3 separate regions of the Homo sapiens genome follow, and all the other regions are linked to region 1. The links are contacts of gene promoters, found by promoter capture Hi-C in blood cells and fetal thymus (Javierre and others, 2016). All regions are on one chromosome and are shown on one strand. Each heading gives the region's core, a stretch centred on a gene start or on the middle of the fragment in contact. The rest is flanking DNA. Distances are from core to core; before and after follow the strand shown. Region 1 holds the start of GNRH1 (gonadotropin releasing hormone 1). Region 2 has its middle 25 kb from the start of DOCK5. Region 3 has its middle 46 kb from the start of DOCK5.

Region 1 (3,833 bases), core at 1,017-3,516:
TAGTTGTAAAAAAAGGTTGGTTTTTATTTTCTAGGTTTTACTAAATATGTTATAGTTCAATGAGATTTGCTTCATGTATAACCTGCAGAGAAGAGGCTTCAGATTCTGGGTCTTCTTTAATACTAAATTATCTTTATTATTTCTCAGAAAAGAGATAATTCCTTCCAATGATAATGAAATGATTTAAAATTTTTCCCATTCTCAGTCCTAGGTTATTTTTCAGGTTAATCAGCTAACATAGATGGCTTCTTTCCTTACATGACCCTGATGAGTGGTCATATTTTATAAACAAAAATCCTCCCGGCACTTTGGGAGGCCAAGGTGGGAGGATCCCTTGAGCCCAGGAGTTTGAGACCAGCCTGGGCAACATAGGGAAACCCCATCTCTATAAAAAGTTTTAAAAATTAGTTGGGTGTGATAGTGCATGCCTGTGGTCCCAGCTATGCAGACGGCTGAGGTGGGAGGATCACTTGAGCCCAAGAAGTCAAGGCTGCAGTGAGCTGTGATCGTGCCACTAAATTCCAGCCTAGATAACACAGCGAGACCCTGTCTTAGAAAATAACCCCAAAAAACAAGAAAGCAAGTACCTCACGTTAGTGTTGGTGCCAGTCCTATAATCTAATCTATATGAATTTAAATCAGCATGTTTTCTACTACGTTATCTTATCATCTTGAGTTTGCTAATTCCTGTATTCTACCAGTCTCCAACTTTGCTTAAATGCCCCTATCAGTGAAAAGAAATTATAGGGCATGCATCCTTGATAAGGATACTCATTTATAAATTATAAAAATGTACTGATCTAATAGCATAGATATGTTTAAAAGATGAAATGAGGAAAAAAAAAACGAAGTTCTAACGTTTTTTCCAAATCCCAAAGAATCATCTTCTGATACAGACCTTGACCCTATCCCATTGTTTCTAATTCCTTTAGCAATCCCATACACTCAGAGTATGACGTGCTGTCTCACACTTGTTGCTATTAATATATTCTTTTGGAATTTTTCCAGCTCTTTGTTTAGTCCCTGTGTGAACTGAAAGTAGGAATGGGACTTCTACTTTGTAAGTGCCTTATCTCACCTGGAGCATCTAGGGTACAACATCATAGAATATTGACATTGGGGCTATCCTGAATGTTTAATATAGTTAAATTGAATAAAATCACTATGTCTTATTTTGAAGCTGAGAGAAACTTACCTCTTGGAAAGAATCAATCAAATTTTCGGCATCTCTCTTTCCTCCAGGGCGCAGTCCATAGGACCAGTGCTGGCTGGAGCAGCCTTCCACGCACCAAGTCAGTAGAATAAGGCCAGCTAGGAGTTTTTGAATTGGCTTCATTCTAAGGCACATGAATGCACAATCAAATTAGATCCAGACAAGGTTGAGTATAAACTAAAAGACCTCTTTAGTGAAAAAGCTAGCATCTGTATCACTAACCCTGCAGAAGATGGAAGTCAGAGTCAGTTTTTACATACAGACACTGAAACTCAGAGACACTTGCTGGCTTGCCTTTAGTTTCTTAGCCACTGGGGACAAAATGAGTACTTAAGCTCACATGTTCAGGACCTTTTTAGTACTAAAATAGTCTATACTTTTATTTTTATTGTTTGGTTATCCAAACCCCATAATTCATCCCTTATCAAGTTCATCATTTTGCCTTAACATTTCCCCTGTTGTGGATTGGTCTTCAACTCTTTCATTCCTGAGATAAAGAGAACTGAGTCATCTGTTAAGAAAAGTAGCTCCTACTAGGAATCTCTGGCTAATATAAAATTGCTTGACATTACATGGCTACCCCATGGTACTAATGACATTTTTCTATTTATCCTTCAGTCTTCCTAGCATTACTGCTGGCTGAACCATCTGTGGGAGAGAGGACTCAACACTGTTCAAAGTAGTTAGTCCCAGACCAGATGCCTTCCTAGCCAAGGGGGCCTCTAATTTTCTAATGAAATGTGTCTCCAAGTTAATTTTCATTTGATGGGAAAGAGGCTAAAAACTAAATCAAACACTGGTCGATAAGCTGTGGGAGTCCCCAAAGCCTGGATCTCTGTGGCTGGTGATGGCAAGGACAGTGAAGGACAGGACATCATTAGATACCGTCACACCTGGATTTAGCCCTTGGGCTGTCAAATGCCCTGTAGACATACAATAGCATGCAATCTAAAGAAGAAAAACTCGTGCTAGAAATAATACAAAGCCTTTTACCTGTTTAGAGGCAGAGAGCCAAAAAGATCCCAATCTTCCCTTGAAGTAGGTTGAGTACTGTGACTTTTCTGTTTTCCTATCTTCCTTTTTATAGGGAATTTTTCCAGGACATTGAAATCTTTCCTGCTGGTAAATTATACTGCAAATGGACTATGCTTTTTTTTTTTTAATGGTAATTTTTAAAAATCCTCACATAAAGCCCTTTAATGGTGTATGTAATTGGAACACCCCCTGGTATATCTGTTAGATTTACTTAAGTGCAGCCATTAAAACCTCAGCTAAAACTTTTATAGCTGAGGACACAATTCAAAGAGATTAAAATCCAGCTAGATTGGATTCCCTTGAGGAAACCAGCAGACCTATCAAGAGTTCAAGGAAAATAGATGTCTTAGATTAAGTGAAGTCAAATGCATACATAACTTCCACAAAGGAGGCTATACAACAAATATAGGACATTGAGTCAGGATGTCTGGGAGCTTCTGGCTCTTGGATTCTTCATTTGTAAAAGGAAGGGTGTAGACTAGATGGACTAGATGATCACAGAGTTGCTTCCAATTTTAAAAATCTGATTTACAAGTAAGTGACACTATATACCAAGTCCATGTAGGATCCTAAATCAGACAGTTGTGTGTTTGAAAATTCCCTCATCTACCCACCAGGTTCCCTGCTTGACTTACCTTGAAAGCCTTCTAAAGCATCAAAAAGGCAAGAAACATATTCTGAGAGCAAGACCATATTGAGCAGACTTACATCAACAGATCAACTCATTTCAGTAGATGCTTATTGAGTTAAATATGCAAATCACTCTTAAGGGCAGTGGGAACAGAAAGATGAGAAATTATAGTTATTTAATAAATAGCAAATGTATAAGAGCATTCATTACAATAGCCATGCAAAGTGGGTATCATTATCTAAATTTTATAGATGTTCCACCCCAGAGGTGCAACCGTGGACGTGTTATTTACACAGGACAAGCATGTAAAATACACACACAACCATTACTCTTAATTACATTTATTTGAATACATGGTTGTCTTCCCCTAATTTACCCCTAGGCTGAAACCTGTAATAGTCAAAGATCCCATCTTATTTAAATCTCTCTTAATAAACCCCCGGCATTTAGTGAGCATTCAGTAAGTATAGGTTTGAATGAATGAATGAACGAATGAATGAATAGAAAGCAAAAAGCTTTTAACCAGGTAAGGCCTAATGCTGCCTCTATTTCTGCATCAAAGATATGCTTTATCTGACACAGAATTAAACTTTCATGTATAATTGGCTGTAAATCCTGTTATATTAGCTAAGCTGTAAGATGGCTAAAAAAAATAACTGGATATTTGTTCATTTTACAGCTGGGAATGGCAATTTCCCCTCATGTAGGATGCTAAACCCATCAGTCATTGCACAGTCTCCTCTGGAATAACTACATTTGCAGGGATTTCAGAGTAAAGAGAAATGGTGTCTTACCTAAGTAAATTCCCTTGCTTTGTCCAGCCATCTCTGTGGAGGCTGTCCAGTCCTCATGATAGGATAGAGAAGGGAGTACACTTTAAAGTATAACTGCAAATAGAGGAGAATTTAAAAATAAAATGTAAGTATTTGACTTTGTTCCATTTAAATTATTTCA
Region 2 (3,730 bases), core at 696-3,195, 260 kb before region 1:
TATGTGCCACATTTTCTTTATCCAGTCTATTGTTGATAGGCATGTAGGTTGATTCTATGTCTTTGCTATTGAATGCAATGAACATATGCATGTATGTGTTTTTTATGGTAGAATTATTTATATTACTTCGGGTATATACATAATAGGATTGCTGGGTCAAATGGTAGTTCTGTTTTAAGTTATTTGAGGAATTGCCAAACTGCTTTCCACAGTGGCTGAACTAATTTATATTCCTACTAGCAGTGTATAAGTGTTCCCTTTTCTGTGCAACCTCACCAGCATCTGCTGTTGTTGTTGTTGTTGTTGTCGTCGTTTTAGACGGAATCTCACTCTGATGTCCAGGCTGGAGTGCAGTGGCACGATCTTGGCTCACTGCAACCTCTACCTCCCAGGTTCAAGCGATTTTCATGCCTCAGCCTCCCAAGTAGCTGGGATTATAGGCATGCACCACCACGCTTGGCTAACTTCTGTATTTTTAGTAGAGATGTATTTTCACCATGTTGGCCAGGCTGGTCTTGAACTCCTGACATCAGGTGATCCGCCCGCCTCGGCCTCCCAAAGTAATGGGATTACAGGCGTGAGCCATTGCATCCAGCCGCATCTGTTGTTTTTCGACTTTTTAATAATAGCTAATCTGACTGGTGTGAGATGGTATTTCACTGTGGTTTTGATTTGCATTTTTCTAATGATTAGTGATGTTGAGCATTTTTTCATATGCCCGTTGGCTGTGTGTATGTCTTCTTTTGAAAAGTGTTCATGTCCTTTGCTCACTTTTTAATGTTTTTTTGTTTTTGTTTTTTGTTTGTTTGTTTTTTGCTTGTTGATTTAAGTTCCTTACAGATTCTGGATATCAGACCTTTGTCAGATGCCATAGTTCGCAAATATATTCTCCCATTCTGTAGGTTGTCTGTTTACTCTGTTGATAGTTTCTTTTGCTGTGCAGAAGTTCTTTAGTTTAATTAGGTCCCACTTGTCAATTTTTGGTTTTGTTGCAATTGCTTTTGGCATCTTTGTCATGAAATCTTTGCCAGGGCTTATGACCAGAATGGTATTTCCTAGGTTTTCTTCCAGGGTTTACAGGGTTTACATTTGAGTCTTTAATCCATCTTGAGTTAATTTTTACATATGGTGTAAGGAAGGGGTCCAGTTTCAGTCTTCTGCATGTAACTAGCCAGTTATCCCAGCACCATTTATTGAATAGGGAGTCCTTTCCCCATTGGTTGTTTCTGTCACAGAAAGTTAATATATATTTTTTTAAGCTGATGAATTAAGAAATAGAGATATAGAAGCAAGTTATCTAGCATTTCATGTCAAATAAGCCAAAGAACTAGATAATAGAAGCAGTCAAAATTATTGGAGGTGAATTCACTTTTTACTTTATATCTCTGTGCTACTATTATTTTTTTAGTAAGTATGGGAGACAGAATAACGGTTCCAAAGATGTCCATGTCCTAGTCCTAGGAACCCATAAATATGTCACCTTACATAGTAAAAGAGATTTTGTGGATGTGATTAGGCTAAGATTGTGAGATGGGGAGATTATCCTAGAGTCTCTGGATGGGCTCAATGCAATTACAAGGGTCCTTACAAGAGGGAGGCAGGAACGTGAGAGTCAAAGAGGAGATGAGACAATGGAAGCAGATTGAAGTGATGCACTTTGAAGATGGAGGAAAAGGCCATGAGCCAAGGAATTTGGGTAACTTCTAGAAGCTGGAAAAGGTATGAAAATGATTCTCCCATAAAGACTCCAGAAAAAACAAAGCTTTGCCAACATTTTGATTTTATCCCTAAAGACTCATTTTGGACACCTGACCTCCACAACTTCAAGATAATAAATTTGCATGGCATGGCAGCTCATGCCTAAATCTCAGCTACATGGGAGGCTGAAGCAGGAGAATTGCCTGAATCCAGAAGTTCAAGGTTGCAGTGAGCCATGATTGCACCACTGTACTCCAGCCTGGGTGACAGAGTTCCCATCTTTAAAAGTTAATAATAAAAATAATATTTTAAGACAATAAATTTATGTTGTTTGAAGCCACTAAATTTGTGGGAAATGGAATGGAGTCCTACTCTTTTTCCTTGGTGAAGGTAGGAAGGGGCATATTTTCATTTTATATGTATTAGCTTAAAAAGCTTTAACCAGCCAGCAAAACTTCAGGACTATCCCTTATGTCCCTGAAGGCCCAAATACTAAATTATCAGACACAGTTCTGTCCTGAAAGACTTCAACATAGAAGAATTTTTTGCCATCCTACCCACCTGCAGCTGACCTAGGAAGCAAAGCAATGTCCTTATAGAAGGACAGCTCTGAGAAGTCTAGAGGCTAGCCCTCCCTAGCCCTCCCACCTGACCCTGTCGTGGCCATCCATTATGAAATTGATGTCACCATCAGTCAGAGAGATTGCTAAGAGGTCACAGGACATTGCCTAGGAAATCCAGGACATGGCACTATTTTAGCCAGGCAGATTGGGGCCTCGCTTCTTGTATCACGGCTCCAAGTCACCATTCTCAGCGGGGAGGGGTCTTTTTTTTTTTCTCCCAATGCCAGAACTTTACCCTTTAGAAGAAGTGTCCAGCAGAGTGACTTCCAGGCACATCACTAATTTAGAGCAATATGGCAACTTTTTTTTTTTTTTGAGGCAGGGTCTCGCTTTGTCACCCAGGCTGGATTGCAGTGGCATGATCACAGCTCACTGCTGCCTCTACCTCCCAGGCTCGAATAATCCTCCCACCTCAGCCTTCTGGGCAGCTGGGACCACAGGTGCAGGCCATCATGCCTACCTAATTTTCTGATTTTTTGTTGAGACCAGGTCTCACTACTTTGGCTCAAGCAATTCTCCTGCCTTGGCTTCCCAAAGAGCTGGAATTACAGGTGTAAGCCACTGCACCCAGCCTATGTAATGATTTTGAAGGCACTACAACTCTTGGTCTGACTAGTGGCCATTTATAAAGGCACCCTCACCCCTAGCCTTCTCACTTTTTATCACAACTACATCCTTGGTGGTCTTAGCTCAGGAAATCTGGTTGGTATAACTCAAGTGAAATACAATCTTTCTCCCACGGAAAAAGGAAAAGAAAGTGACCAGGGCAGGTGAGGAGCTCAATTGGGAGCTCTGAAATGTAGCATAGAGGAGTTAAGGGGGAACTAAAATAGTGCATTGCAGCTCCTTTTACAAAATTTCTCCATCAAAACCCTCAACACACTCAAAAGGGTTTGCATTTTATCCAACATCCTGAGGTGTTGATGTTTCTCCTGTACCTCCCAAGTCTCTCCTGAAACAGCATTCTTTTTTTTTTTTTCAGCCAATGGAATTGTTCTCCCAGCTACTCAGGAGGCTGAGGCAGGAGAATGGCGTGAACCCGGAAGGCAGAGCTTGCAGTAAGCCGAGATCGAACCACTGCACTCCAGCCTGGGCGACAGAGCGAGACTCTGTATCAAAAAAAAAAAATAGAATGAGTAGATTTTTCACTGCTTTGGTTCATGGAAGGAATATTCATTTTTAGGGGGAAAAAACCCAACTTAATGAATAAGTACTGGGACAAACACAAAATTTAATCAACAGAACATATACAAGCAAAAAAGGACTCAATTTAAGGACAAAGAGTTCTCTTTTAAGAGATTATTATTGCGTGGTTGATCCATGGTATACTACAGCAAGATGAAAAGACAGTGTGACATCAGTATAAATCCATCATTTGAGCCCATTCTCCCAATGAAGACACTGACACC
Region 3 (3,312 bases), core at 278-2,777, 290 kb before region 1:
TCCTGTAAGCATGCTAGTGGTAATCCAGGACAACCACCAAGAAAATAACTCAAATTTCAGGAAAGCTTCATTATAGAAAGTATTTGTTTGAGGGCAACTTGACATGATTTCTTATTCAGGAATGGCCCAGAAAGAGTGTCATTGATCTCTCTCTCACTTGGCCATAGCAACCCAGATGGGATCTTTCAATATGGAGGGCAGTTGCCTTCGTGGTTTTCTACTTGCTCTACCTGCCTTTGGGAAATCTTTTTGGAAACTTGCATTCACAGAGCAAAATATCTGCACAGACTGGACCAGTCATTATCGAGCCAAATCAGGCCAGAAATGTCTCTCAAGGATCTTCAGAAAGATGTAATGGATGGCCCAGATTATCCAAATTGTGGTAAATGAAAACATTAAAGACATCAATGAGTGTTCAAAGAACAGATTCCGTATGGCGTCCAATAGCGTAATTGAAAGGACTTGAAAGATGTGAAGACTGAGAGTAGAGAAGGAAAATTTTGAAGGAGAAAATAGGTAATTCAAAAGTAATAGTTGGAGTTATCAATATCCCATTTTCTTTTTCTTTTTTTTTTTTTTTTTGAGATGGAGTCTTGCTCTGCCACCCAGGCTGGAGTGCAGTGGTGTAAACTCAGCTCACTGCAAACTCTGCCTCCCAAGTTAAAGCAATTCTTGTGCCTCAGCCTCCAGAGTAGCTGGGACTGCAGGCGCCTGCCACCACGCCAGGCTAATTTTTGTATTTTTAGTACAGACGGGGTTTCACCATGTTAGCCAGGCTAGTCTCGAATTCCTGACCTCAAGTGATCCACCCACCTCAGCCTCCCAAAGTGCTGGGACTATAAGCATGAGCCACCACACCCAGCCAATATCCCATTTTCAATAGTGGGTCGAAAGCAGGCTGAAGAGCAATAAGATGACTAAAAAAAAAACTATAAACTAATCCTACCTAACAGACATCTATAGAACAATGTACTCAAAAAGATAGAACACAAATTCTTCTCGAGTTCACATGGATGATTCTCCAGGATAGACTATATGCTAGGTCATAAACCAAGCCTCAATACATTTAGGAAAGTTGAAATCATACAAAGTATGCTTTCTAACCACAGTGGAATAAAAGAAAAAAACAATACAAAGAAATTTGGGAAATGCACACACATTGAAATTAAACAATATACAATTAAATGACTAATGAACTGAAGAAAATCATAAGGGAAATTAGAAAATTTGAGATTAATGAAAATGAAGATACATCATACCAAAACCTATGGGACACAGCTACAGCAGTGCTTAGAGAGAAATTTGTAGGTATAAATTCCTATATTAAAAAAGAATAAACACCTCATATCAACAACCTAATGTTCTATTTTAAGAAACTTGAAAAATAAGAGGAAGCTAAATTAAAAGCAGAAGAAAGAAAATAAAAATTCGAGTTGCAATAAATGAGACAGAAAATAGAAAAACAGGGAAAATCAATAAAACAAAAAGTATTTTATTAAAAAGAACAACAAAACTGACAATCTTTTAGCTATACTGACCAAGGGAAAAAAAAGAAGACTCAAATTACTAATTCCAGAAATGAAAGAAGAGACATTACTATTGACCTTACAGAAATAAAAAGAAATATAAAAGAATATTTTGAACTATGGTATGCCAACAAATTAGATAACCTAAATGAAAGGAGAAATTCCTAGAAAGCCAGAAAGTCCTGAAATGGACCAAAGAGAAAATCTAAAATCTGAATAGACCTGTAACAAGTATTAATTTTAAAAAATGAATTAGTAAGGACCAGGCCTAAATAGCTTTACTGGTAAATTTTACTATATGGTTAAAGAATAGCTAACACCAATGCTTCTCAAACTTCCAAATAATAGAAGAAGAGGTAACACTTCTCAACTTATTCTAAGAGGTTTGTATCACCTTGAAAGCAAAAGAAATCACAAGAAAACTGCAAACAAATATCACTTATGAATATATTTGCAAAATTTATCCACAAAATACTAGCAAACCAAATCCAACAACATATAAAAAGGATTATACCCTTTGATTAAGTGTGATTTATCACAGGACTGCAAGGTTGGTTCAACATATGAAAATTAATCTATATAATAATCCATATTAATAAATAAAGCAAAAACCCACATAATCATCCCAATAGACACAGAGTCTGACAAAATCCAACATTTCATAATACAAACACTCAATAAACTAAAAACAGAAGGTAACTTCTGCAACCTTATAAAAGACTTCTGTGAAAAAGCCACAGCTAACATTATACTTAATGCTGAAATATTGACAGATCTCTCCTTAGATGAGGAACATGACAAGGATGTCCAATTTCAGCACTTCTATTCAATATTCTAATGGAGGTAATTAGACAAGAAAAAGAAATAAACAGCCCTTTGATTGGAAAGGAAGAAGTAAAACTATCTCTATTTCCAGACTGTGTCTTGAAACTCCTAAGTAATTCACAAAAATCTATTAGAACCAATAAATGAATTTATCCGTTTTCAGGATACAAAATCAACATAAGAAAATGAATTATATTTCTATGCACTAGCAAAGGACAACTGTATTAGTCCGTTCTCATGCTCCTATGAAGAAATACCCAAGACTGGGTAATTTATAAAGGAAAGAAGTTTAATTGACTCACAGTTCTGCAGGGCTGGGGAAGGCCTCAAGAAATTTACAATTGCAGCAGGAGCAGGAAGTGCAGAGCAAAGCAGAGCTTGAGAGGGAAGCCTCTTATAAAACCATCAGATCTCACGAGAATTCACTATCAGGAGAACAGCATGGAGGTAACCACCCCCATGATCCAATTACCTCCCGCTGGGTCCCTCCCATGACACCTGGGGATTATGGGAACTGCAATTCAAGATGAGATTTAAGTGGGGACACAGCCAAGCCATATTAACAATCAAAAATGAAAACAAGTGCATTTACAATAACATCGAAATAATAAAATAAATAAATTTAACAAAATAAGTGCAAAGCTTATACTAACAATTATAAAATGTTGAAAGAAATTAAAGAAGACCTAAATATATGGAAAGATGTCCCATTTTTATGGATCAGAAGTCTCAGTATTATTAAGATGGTAACACTCCCCAAATTTATCTACAGATTCAATGCAGTTGCTATTAAAATCCCAACTGACATTTTTGCAGACACGGAGAAGCTGATCCTAAAACTCATATAGAAATGCAAGAGACCCAGACTAGCCAAAACAATCTTTAAAATTAAGAACAAAATTGGAAGACTCACACCTTTTTGTTGTTGTTGTTTGTTTGTTTGAGACAGGGTCTCGCTCTA

The links. The method cuts DNA at HindIII sites, captures the fragments that hold promoters and counts their contacts. A CHiCAGO score of 5 or more calls a contact.
Region 2: a contact is called between a fragment that was not itself captured here and the fragment with the promoter of GNRH1 in region 1, in 1 of 17 cell types (neutrophils). The highest score is 5.2, in neutrophils.
Region 3: a contact is called between a fragment that was not itself captured here and the fragment with the promoter of GNRH1 in region 1, in 1 of 17 cell types (neutrophils). The highest score is 7.5, in neutrophils.

What each region holds. Positions count from the first base shown.
Region 1 is chr8:25,421,995-25,425,827 of GRCh38, forward strand. GNRH1 (gonadotropin releasing hormone 1) reads right to left here and starts at 2,267. Exons shown (of 4, transcript NM_001083111.2): 1 at 2,207-2,267; 2 at 1,196-1,337. The coding sequence starts at 1,336. The HindIII fragment of the contact is 12,746 bases long and covers 1-3,392 here.
Region 2 is chr8:25,157,439-25,161,168 of GRCh38, forward strand. No RefSeq gene overlaps it. Among named protein-coding and RNA genes, the nearest start is that of DOCK5, 25 kb to the right of the region's middle. The HindIII fragment of the contact is 371 bases long and covers 1,761-2,131 here.
Region 3 is chr8:25,137,130-25,140,441 of GRCh38, forward strand. No RefSeq gene overlaps it. Among named protein-coding and RNA genes, the nearest start is that of DOCK5, 46 kb to the right of the region's middle. The HindIII fragment of the contact is 2,928 bases long and covers 64-2,991 here.